Linked DNA regions of Homo sapiens: region 1 is linked to region 2. The links are contacts of gene promoters, found by promoter capture Hi-C in human tissues and cell types (Jung and others, 2019). All regions are on one chromosome and are shown on one strand. Each heading gives the region's core, a stretch centred on a gene start or on the middle of the fragment in contact. The rest is flanking DNA. Distances are from core to core; before and after follow the strand shown.

Evidence for each region. The method cuts DNA at HindIII sites, captures the fragments that hold promoters and counts their contacts. A contact is called where the count stands out against the background at its distance.
Region 1: a contact is called between the fragment with the promoter of ZBTB40 here and the fragment with the promoter of C1QB in region 2, in 2 of the 25 tissues and cell types used here (H1 embryonic stem cells and IMR-90 fibroblasts).

Annotation. Positions count from the first base shown.
Region 1 is chr1:22,449,342-22,453,560 of GRCh38, forward strand. ZBTB40 (zinc finger and BTB domain containing 40) reads left to right here and starts at 2,510. Exons shown (of 18, transcript NM_014870.4): 1 at 2,510-2,663. RefSeq lists silencers at 1,755-2,049, 2,364-2,563, 2,904-2,993 and enhancers at 2,439-3,000, 2,714-2,793. The HindIII fragment of the contact is 15,295 bases long and covers 1-4,219 here.
Region 2 is chr1:22,651,234-22,655,327 of GRCh38, forward strand. C1QB (complement C1q B chain) reads left to right here and starts at 2,003. Exons shown (of 3, transcript NM_001378156.1): 1 at 2,003-2,070. The HindIII fragment of the contact is 7,433 bases long and covers 1-3,565 here.

The DNA.
Region 1 (4,219 bases), core at 1,260-3,759, 200 kb before region 2:
GGTTATTTCTCCGCAGCTGTCGAAGCTCTGTGGGGAGATGAGGCCCTTACAAGGTCTAGAAGGTCTAGCCATTGTCTTCTTATTCTTCCATATCATGACCAGCCAGAAGCCAGAGCCATTGCTCTCCATGACAGTATGTCGTTGTTCATGAACTGTAGGCAAGTCAGCCCCATGAGAACTTCTGTTAATGCAAAACCTTAAGTAAATGGTGATGGGGAAACTGCAGCCACTGATCCACTGACTGTGGATACATGTGTGGGGTGTGTTGGGAGATGTCTAAAACAATCCCCCCAGGGAAAGATTCCTTTCCATATTTCCTAAATATTTTATAATAAGCATGTATTCATTTAAAAAAAGTTATAGAAAGCCTCTTCTTTGTCACTGCTGTCCCAATAACTGAGTACACTTGGTGGCCACTTTTCTTTTGCTCTCTTCGTTTAGTCCCTATAGGATTTGAAGTCTTGTTAAGTGGAACAGGAGGGACAGATGGTGCCTGAAAACTTATTCCTATTGAGACTCCTGAGCTTCAAGCCATCTGCATTCACATACAGCACATTGGCAATGATACTGTTTTTTAAAATCCATTAATTCGATAAATATTTCTCTTTTTTTTTTTTTTGAGACGGAGTCTCGCTCTCGTTGCCCAGGCTGGAGTGCAGTGGCGTGATCTCAGCTCACTCCAACCTCCGCCTCCCAGGTTCAAGCGATTCTCCTGCCTCAGCATCCTGAGTAACTGGGATTACAGGCACCTGCCACCATGCCCAGGTAATTTTTCTATTTTTAGTAGAGACGGGGGTTTCACCATGTTGGCCAGGCTGGTCTCGAACTCCTGACCTCAGGTGATCCGCCTGCCTCGGCCTCCCAAAATGCTCCCAAAATGCCCAGTGGCTCACACCTGTAATCCCATTAACTCGATAAATATTTCTAGAGCACCTACTATGTGCCAAGCACCCTTCTAGGTGTTTGTTTGCTAAATCTAGCAACCCTATGTTCCCACTAAAAGAGAATGTGAGGCTGGTGGAAATGAGGGCTTAGGAGACACAACAGCTGTAGGCGTGGTTCCAGTTACTACAAAAGTGACTAAATAACAGCTACAGTAAATCCGACCCTGAATGTAACGGTGACATGAGTATAATAGTGAAAGTGACTAACTGGGCACAAGGGTATGAGGACAACAGTGTACCCTGAAGGGGCCTGTTAAATACTGGCTTGACTGTGTGGCAGCAAAAGTGGCTGCATGACAATGACAGTGAAAACAACAGAAAGGGCAACAGCTGGGCAAACAAAGTGCTATTTTGAACAGAACCGTTTGAAGTTTATGGTCAATGACGGTAGCTGCATGTCAGACAGTGACAGTAAATATGATCGACCGGGAGACAGCAACAATGCAAGTGACAGTTCTGCCCAGTAGATTGAATTTGTGATGTAAAACGGTGATGGGGTGAGTCAGTCAGCCAGAGACAGCTCTCAGAACGACTGAATATTGACATTGCAGATGGAAAAGGTATAACCACAGAGGAAGCTGGACATTGCACTAAGATGGCTGGATTTGGGCACGTAACTGTCAGGGACAGAAAAAGTGGCTGCATGTCAGTGACAGGGTGACTGTGTTCAGTGGGCCAGCGCGGAGGTGACTCAGTTTGTTACTGCTGGATCTGATTTAAATGTTTGTGTAAGGAAGGGTGGCAAGGGGACGCTTCAACAGGGAACGCATAGTGTGTGAGAAGGAAAATGAGCAAAAGAAAAGCTAGGACTAAATCCCAAAGCCCCTAAATCCCAAAATTGGGAGGTGCGAGAGGCAGGATCAGGATGCCTCCAGGATGCCTTCAGCCCACTGCGCCCCACCAGCGCCAAGCCTGTCCCACAAAGAGTGCGGGCTGGGGACGCGGCTCAGGTCGCCTCTCCGCCTCGCACGTGAATGTGTTGTTTTGGAAAAACGAAGCCTTTTGTGTTCACTTCCTTGCCCTCCTTTGAAACAAAATCCTAATCCTAGAGCTGCCGGAGCGAGACTGCGGAGCTCCATTAGAACTTTCCTTAGGGCCGGGCATGGTGGGAGGCCGAGGCAGGTGGATCATCTGGGCTCAGGAGTTCGGGACCAGCCTGGCCAACATGGTGACATCCTGTCTCTACTAAAAATAGAAGAGAAAAAAAAAATTAGCAGGGCGTGGTGGCGCGCGCCTGTAATCCCAGCTACTCGGGAGGCTGAGGCAGGAGAATCGCTTGAACCTGGAAGGCGGAGGCTGCAGTGGGGCGAGATCGCGCCGCTACACTCCAGCCTGGGAAACAAGAGCGAATCTCCCATCTCAAAAAAAAAAAAAAGAAAAAAACTTTACTTAGGAAGTGTGGGGAGGGAAGGAGGGAGTGGCCAAGGTCAGAGGTCAGAGAAGAGCCTAGCAACCAGCCGGCCCCCGCCGTCCTAGCATAGGTGGAGAGCGAGCGCGTGACGCAGGCCCCGCCCCCAGCACGTGACCGCGGCGCGTGGGGCAGGTCGGGCCGCCCCCTCCCCTCTGATACCCATTGCGCGCCGGCCTCAAGATGGCCGCCTTCTGGCGTCTCCGGCGCTGTTGAATGGCGAAAGCTTTATTGTTCCCTTCGGGCAGGAGTGTTCGTGTCCTCTATGGCGCTGTCAATAAAGAACGGCAGTTTGAATCGGTGCTGAACAGGTAACCATAGAAACGGGGCTGGGACTCCGCGTGGAGACCCTTCCTGCAGCGGGGGCCCGGGTGCGCCCTAAATGAGGGGTGTATACAGACCCTTCCGCGTGGCGAACTCCGCGGGACTCGGCCGAATCACGGCCGCCTCACCTACACCCCGGACGTGCCCCCTCCAGGGGCGGTCCGCACCCCTGGCGCCGGCTCTGCTGTAGACTGCGGAGGGGAGAGACCGCGGGGACCCACTCAGGGCGCCAGGCCCGACCTGACACCGCCTGGGGCTCGCTGTCGCCCCGCACCTCCCTCTCGGCCCGTCCGGAGGCCTCTTGTCGCTGTCTCACTCCCCCTCCCTTCAGGTCCCTTCGCCGGGCGTCAGCGGACTATGGCCTTGGGCCTAATCCATGCCCCCCTTCTCTCTTCCCCTCTCGGTCTTTGTTTACAGTTGCAAATGGTTAGGGGGAAGAATATTTCATGTAATTTGCGAAAGTTCTATGAAATCAAGTCCATAAATGAAGTTTTATTGGAACACGGCCCTGTTCATTGTTGATGTATTGTCTATGGCTGCTTTCCTGCCAAGAGGGCAGAGCTGAGTAGTTGCGCAGCCGTTGCTTGGCTTTGATCGGCTGGCTCACAAAGCCAGAAATATTTCTGTCTGGTCCCTTACAGCAAAAGTTTACTGACCCCTGCCCTAAACACAAGGAGATTGGATCAGTGTTGTCATTCAGCTATTCCTCTCGTCGGTTCTTCTGGAGTGGGAAAAGAGTTAAAACTGCGCGATGCACCGAGAGCACTTTAGTTGACAGAACACTCTGGCTTCCCTTCTGGTCTTACTGACTATTCAGAGTTTCTCCTGCTTTGAATAGCGTTGGTACCATGCAGCCAGTGCTGCAATGAACCAGGTGCTTTATTTATATTCATACAAGTGTTGTTCTACTTTATGACGACGCTTTATAAGTAAGTATGGTATTTCCATTTTACAAACGAGGAAGAAATTTGTTCTGAGTGGTTAATATATGTATAGGTGTACTAGGTTATAGGGCTGCCAAATTGAGCCTGTCCCTGGGAGCCCCCTGCCTGATGGCACCGGTCAAACTGCTTTGGATTTTATTCTTTCAAGTCTTTTCTACCTGGAATTGTTTGTTCTTCCCTGGAATTGTACCCAGATCTTTGTATGGTTAATGGAGATTTAATTACAATCTCAGTGAAATTTTTTTCTACTTAGCTAAATCATCAAACTTCTGCCCCTCCTTTCTAATATAAACACTTTTCTTCTATGTCAGTAGTCCCCAAACTTAGCTATTCATTAGTGGTTTAACAAATGGTTTCAGAACACCCCATGCATGTACGCATGCATTCATTAATCATTTAGTGTTTGTTGAGCACTTACTGTGTACCAGAGACGTTTCAAATTCCTGGAAATACAGTGGTGAACAAGACAAATATGATTTCTGCCCTTCCATGGAATTTAAATTCTATGTGGGGCTTGGACAAGTGGTATACAGGTAGACAAAGATAATTTCAAATACAGCTGTAATAGCATCATCATAATAAAATTATTAGTTGCTATT
Region 2 (4,094 bases), core at 753-3,252:
CATGCTTCCCATTTCTACACGAGGAAACTGAGGCCAGTAAACATTCCCGTGGCCACATAGTTAGCAAGACGAAGAGCTGGGATTCAAACTGCCAAAGTCCGTGCTCCTAACCCACCTCTGCTGCTTCCTGTTCTTAGCCTCACTGCTTCTACCCCAAATTGACATCCATCTTTTCCCATTGCCCTTAGCCACCTAAGAATTAGAGGCCCAGAGGCTGGGCATGGTGGCTCACGCCTGTAATCCCAGCACTTTGGGAGGCCGAGGCAGGCAGATCAACTTGAGGTCAGGAGTTTGAGACCGGCCTGGCCAACATGGTGAAACCCTGTATCTACTAAAAAAAAATACAAAAATTAGCTGGGCTTGGTGGCATGCACCTGTAGTCCCAGCTACCTGGGAGGCTGAGGCAGGAGAATCGCTTGAACTTGGGAGGAAGAGGTTCTAGTGAGCTGAGGTCGCACCACTGCACTCCAGCCTGAGCAACAGACTGAGACTCCATCTCAAGAAAAAAAAAAAAAAAAAGAACTAGAGGCCCAGAGCCACTCGGCTTTGGGAATGCTCAGAAGCCCTCAACTTGCAACCTACTAACTCGTTTCTCCCTTTGTGGAATCCAGTGTTTCTTCTCTTCACCCTAGCCTGGGTCCCTTCGGGACTATAGTTGACTGAGCTCAGAGACCTTTTGGTTTTATCAAACTTATCTTTCCCTCCTGTTCACCCATTGCAGTTAACACTTAATTTCCACCAAGCTGCATCCACAAGCCCAGTGAATTTCCATCTCCAAGCACAGATGTCAAGAGGGCCTCCAGCTCCTGGTGCTTGCTAGTCATCATGTCGTCTGAGACGCAGCCACAGGGAGAGACTGATATCCTAGTGCCAGGGATGCCGGCTTCCAGGTCTGCATCTGCCACCTCCATGAGGCATCGGCCCCAGCAGTCACGTCTTTCTGTGACATTTATCACAGAAGCAATGAAGCCTCATGTCATTCCGTGTTTAACACCAGTCTCCCCCCGTAGAAGGGAGGCCCCATGGGGGCAGGGACCATGGCTGATTTGCTAAGAGCTCTCTCTTCAGTGCACATGGAAGCAAACACTAAATATTTGTTAAATGGTGGGTCTCCCCTCTGGGCCTCAGTTTCCTCGTATATAAAATGAGGAGGATGGGCCGAGTAACCTCAGCCCCTCTCCGGCCCTAACTTGGCGTGATTCCAGGATCGAGAAGAAGCAACAGGCCCCTGCCTGGGCCTATTATTGTCATCAGCGTCCAGCCCTGCTGGAAGCAGAGGGAGGGGTATCAATAAATAATGAACACATTTAAAATTCATTATGAGATTATTTTCTGAGAACAGGGAAAGAGCAGGGGCACAGAATGGGAAGGAAGCAGAAGAGATGAGCCCAGAAAGGGGAAGCCTGGGACATGAAGTGATATTAACAATGAACACGTGCACAGCCCTTTACAGTTTACCCCCAGACACTTCCTCCCCCATCATTTCCTCCATTATCCTCCCAGTGGCCTGTGAGATCTGTATCTGTAGAGCAGGTACAATTATGGTCCCATCCTATAGCAGAGAAAATTGGGGCTCCCTTGACTGACAACACATCAACTGGCAAGTGGCAGAGGCGGGATTGGAATCAAAGGCTCTGACTGTAAGCCAGCACTCAGGCAGCGGGCCCGCCACATGATGCTCACTGAGGAACACCCCTGCCCAGTGTAGAAGAAGATCACGAGGTCAGAGAGCCTGGGAGGGTGAGCTGTGGATGTTCCCCCAGGACAGCGTGTTCTCCCCACAGCTGCTGAGTTGGCAGAACCAAACTTGCCACCCACCCGTCTCATTTACAGTAAATCCAGTGGGTTGCAGAAATAGGACCTGAAACTGCCTGAGGGCAGCAGGGTGGGGGGACAGTGAGGGGACGGGAAAGGGGCCAGCCTGCTGGTCCATGGGAGGGGACCGTCAGGGGAAAGCCCTTCCCGCCTCTGGGGAAGGGAACTTCCGCTTCGGACCGAGGGCAGTAGGCTCTCGGCTCCTGGTCCCACTGCTGCTCAGCCCAGTGGCCTCACAGGACACCAGCTTCCCAGGTGAGGACGGGGCTTGGCGCCTGGGGGAGGCTGGCAGGGCCAATATGGCAGAAAGTGGTGATTCCGTAAGTGTGAGCTTTGCGTCACCTGCCTCGGAGCCAGTTAGGCTGTTTAACAGTGCAGGTAGCTGGGCCCAATCCCAGACCTATGGGACCCAGATCTCTGGGGTGAGTTGGGGAGTCTGCTGCTACCCAGGGCCTAGCGGATGGGCAGGCCACCTAAAGCGGGAGCCTGGCACATAGGAGCTTTGGCATCGCAGAGACTTGAGCTGAGTCTGGCTCTGCACCTTATGTATTGGTTATCTTGGGCAAGTCACCTAACCTCTCTCAGCCCGGCCCCCCTACAGAGAACAGAATCTTTCAGCACTGCTGTGCCTTACAGGAGATCAAGCTTGCAAAAGCTTAGTGCATGCCCTGGCTCAAAATTTATCAGTAAACCAGAGGCAGGAGTGGGATTATAAGCCAGTCGCTCCTGCCCGGCCCAGCATTTCCCCAACACCTTGCTTATTTCCTCATACTCGCTGAGAAAGCTCAGCTTGACTCTTCCAAAGAAATAAGGGGATGTGCAGGTAGAGTTACGATGAGTTCTCAGCTAGTACTGAGTGAGCGCAATGTTTGTGCAGCTGGGGAGTGGGATGTGGCACTGCACGGGGCAGGGGGGACCTTATTTCTTCTAAGCGCCTTCTCCTGTCATCCTTCTGGCAGCCCTGTCAGGTTGAAATCAGCATTGCCAAGAGGCTCAGAGAGGTTAAGGCACTTGCCTGAGGTTATGCAGCCGGTAGCAGATGGGGCTTTAAAGTCAAGTGGGCCTGACTCCATGTTGCGGAAAGGGACTGCTGGACCGAAGGAGATGGAAAGGTCAGAGCCTGGGGGGAGGACAGGAGAAACCGCGCTGGCAATGATGATGGGCTGGCACAGGCAGGAGGCAGTTAAACCAGATGAGTTGTAAGCCCTAACCCAAGGCTGAAACTCGGTGGCTTTTGAAATGGGCTAGAACCAGCACTTTCCCACTCCCCCTGCCCCTGGCTTCCCCAGGAAGCCCAAGTCCTGTCAGTACCCTGCTCCCCACCCTCTCTCCCCACCAACTGGTCACAGCTCTCCACCCCTTGCTGCCTCCAACTGACAGAGCCCCTCCCTCTAAACACAGTCTTTCAAAGGGATTGTCTTTTTTTACTTCTCCAACCATCTTCCCTTCTGTTCAACCACTCAGGAATTCTTGGATGACAGTGATAATAATAAAATAGCTAATATTCATTAAGAATTTCCAACATGCCAGGCTCTGTTGGAAGCTGTAACTCATGTCCTCGCACATACCCTATGAGGGAGAGAGTAGCATTATCCCCACTTTATAGGAGGGTAAACTGTGGCCAGAGAGAAGGAGTGATTTCCCAAGTCCCTTAGCTAAGAAGCAGTAGAGACCTTATGTGAACGCTGAGTGTTGCTTTCCTTGTGACACTACAGGCTCCCGCCACCAGGTGAATGTGTGCTGCCTAACAAGAGCAGCAATCATCGTGGTGGTAAAAAGCCACTTTCACCGAACACTGACCATGTGCCTACCACTACCCTTGGTGTGTCCCATGCATTAGTCCTTTTATCAGGCTGTCTGGCTTCAAAGTTTATGTTTTTACCACCAGGTACAGTGGCCTCTTAACATAACATTGAGTTTTAAGATCCAGTGGATGTGGGTTTGACTCCCAGCCACACAGGAGCTGTGTGACTTTTATCAAGGTGCTTGCCCTCTCTGATCCCGTTGCCTCATCTGTAAAATAAGAAAGCAAGAGTGCATTCTCAGGGGCTGAATATCAAATTACAGGGGATAATGGCATGCAAGCCATCTGGCTCAGAGCCTGGCCTATACGTACCCAACTTATTAAAGTTGTTAAATTGCCATTTTGTAAAACCTTTAGCAAGAGCAAGAGTGAGAGCTGATGCTTATTCATGGATAAGCAGGACCATGCCCCTGAGCCACCCTGTCTTCAGAGCATAGAGCCTGACAGAACCTAAAGCTGTCACCAGCATTCCCTG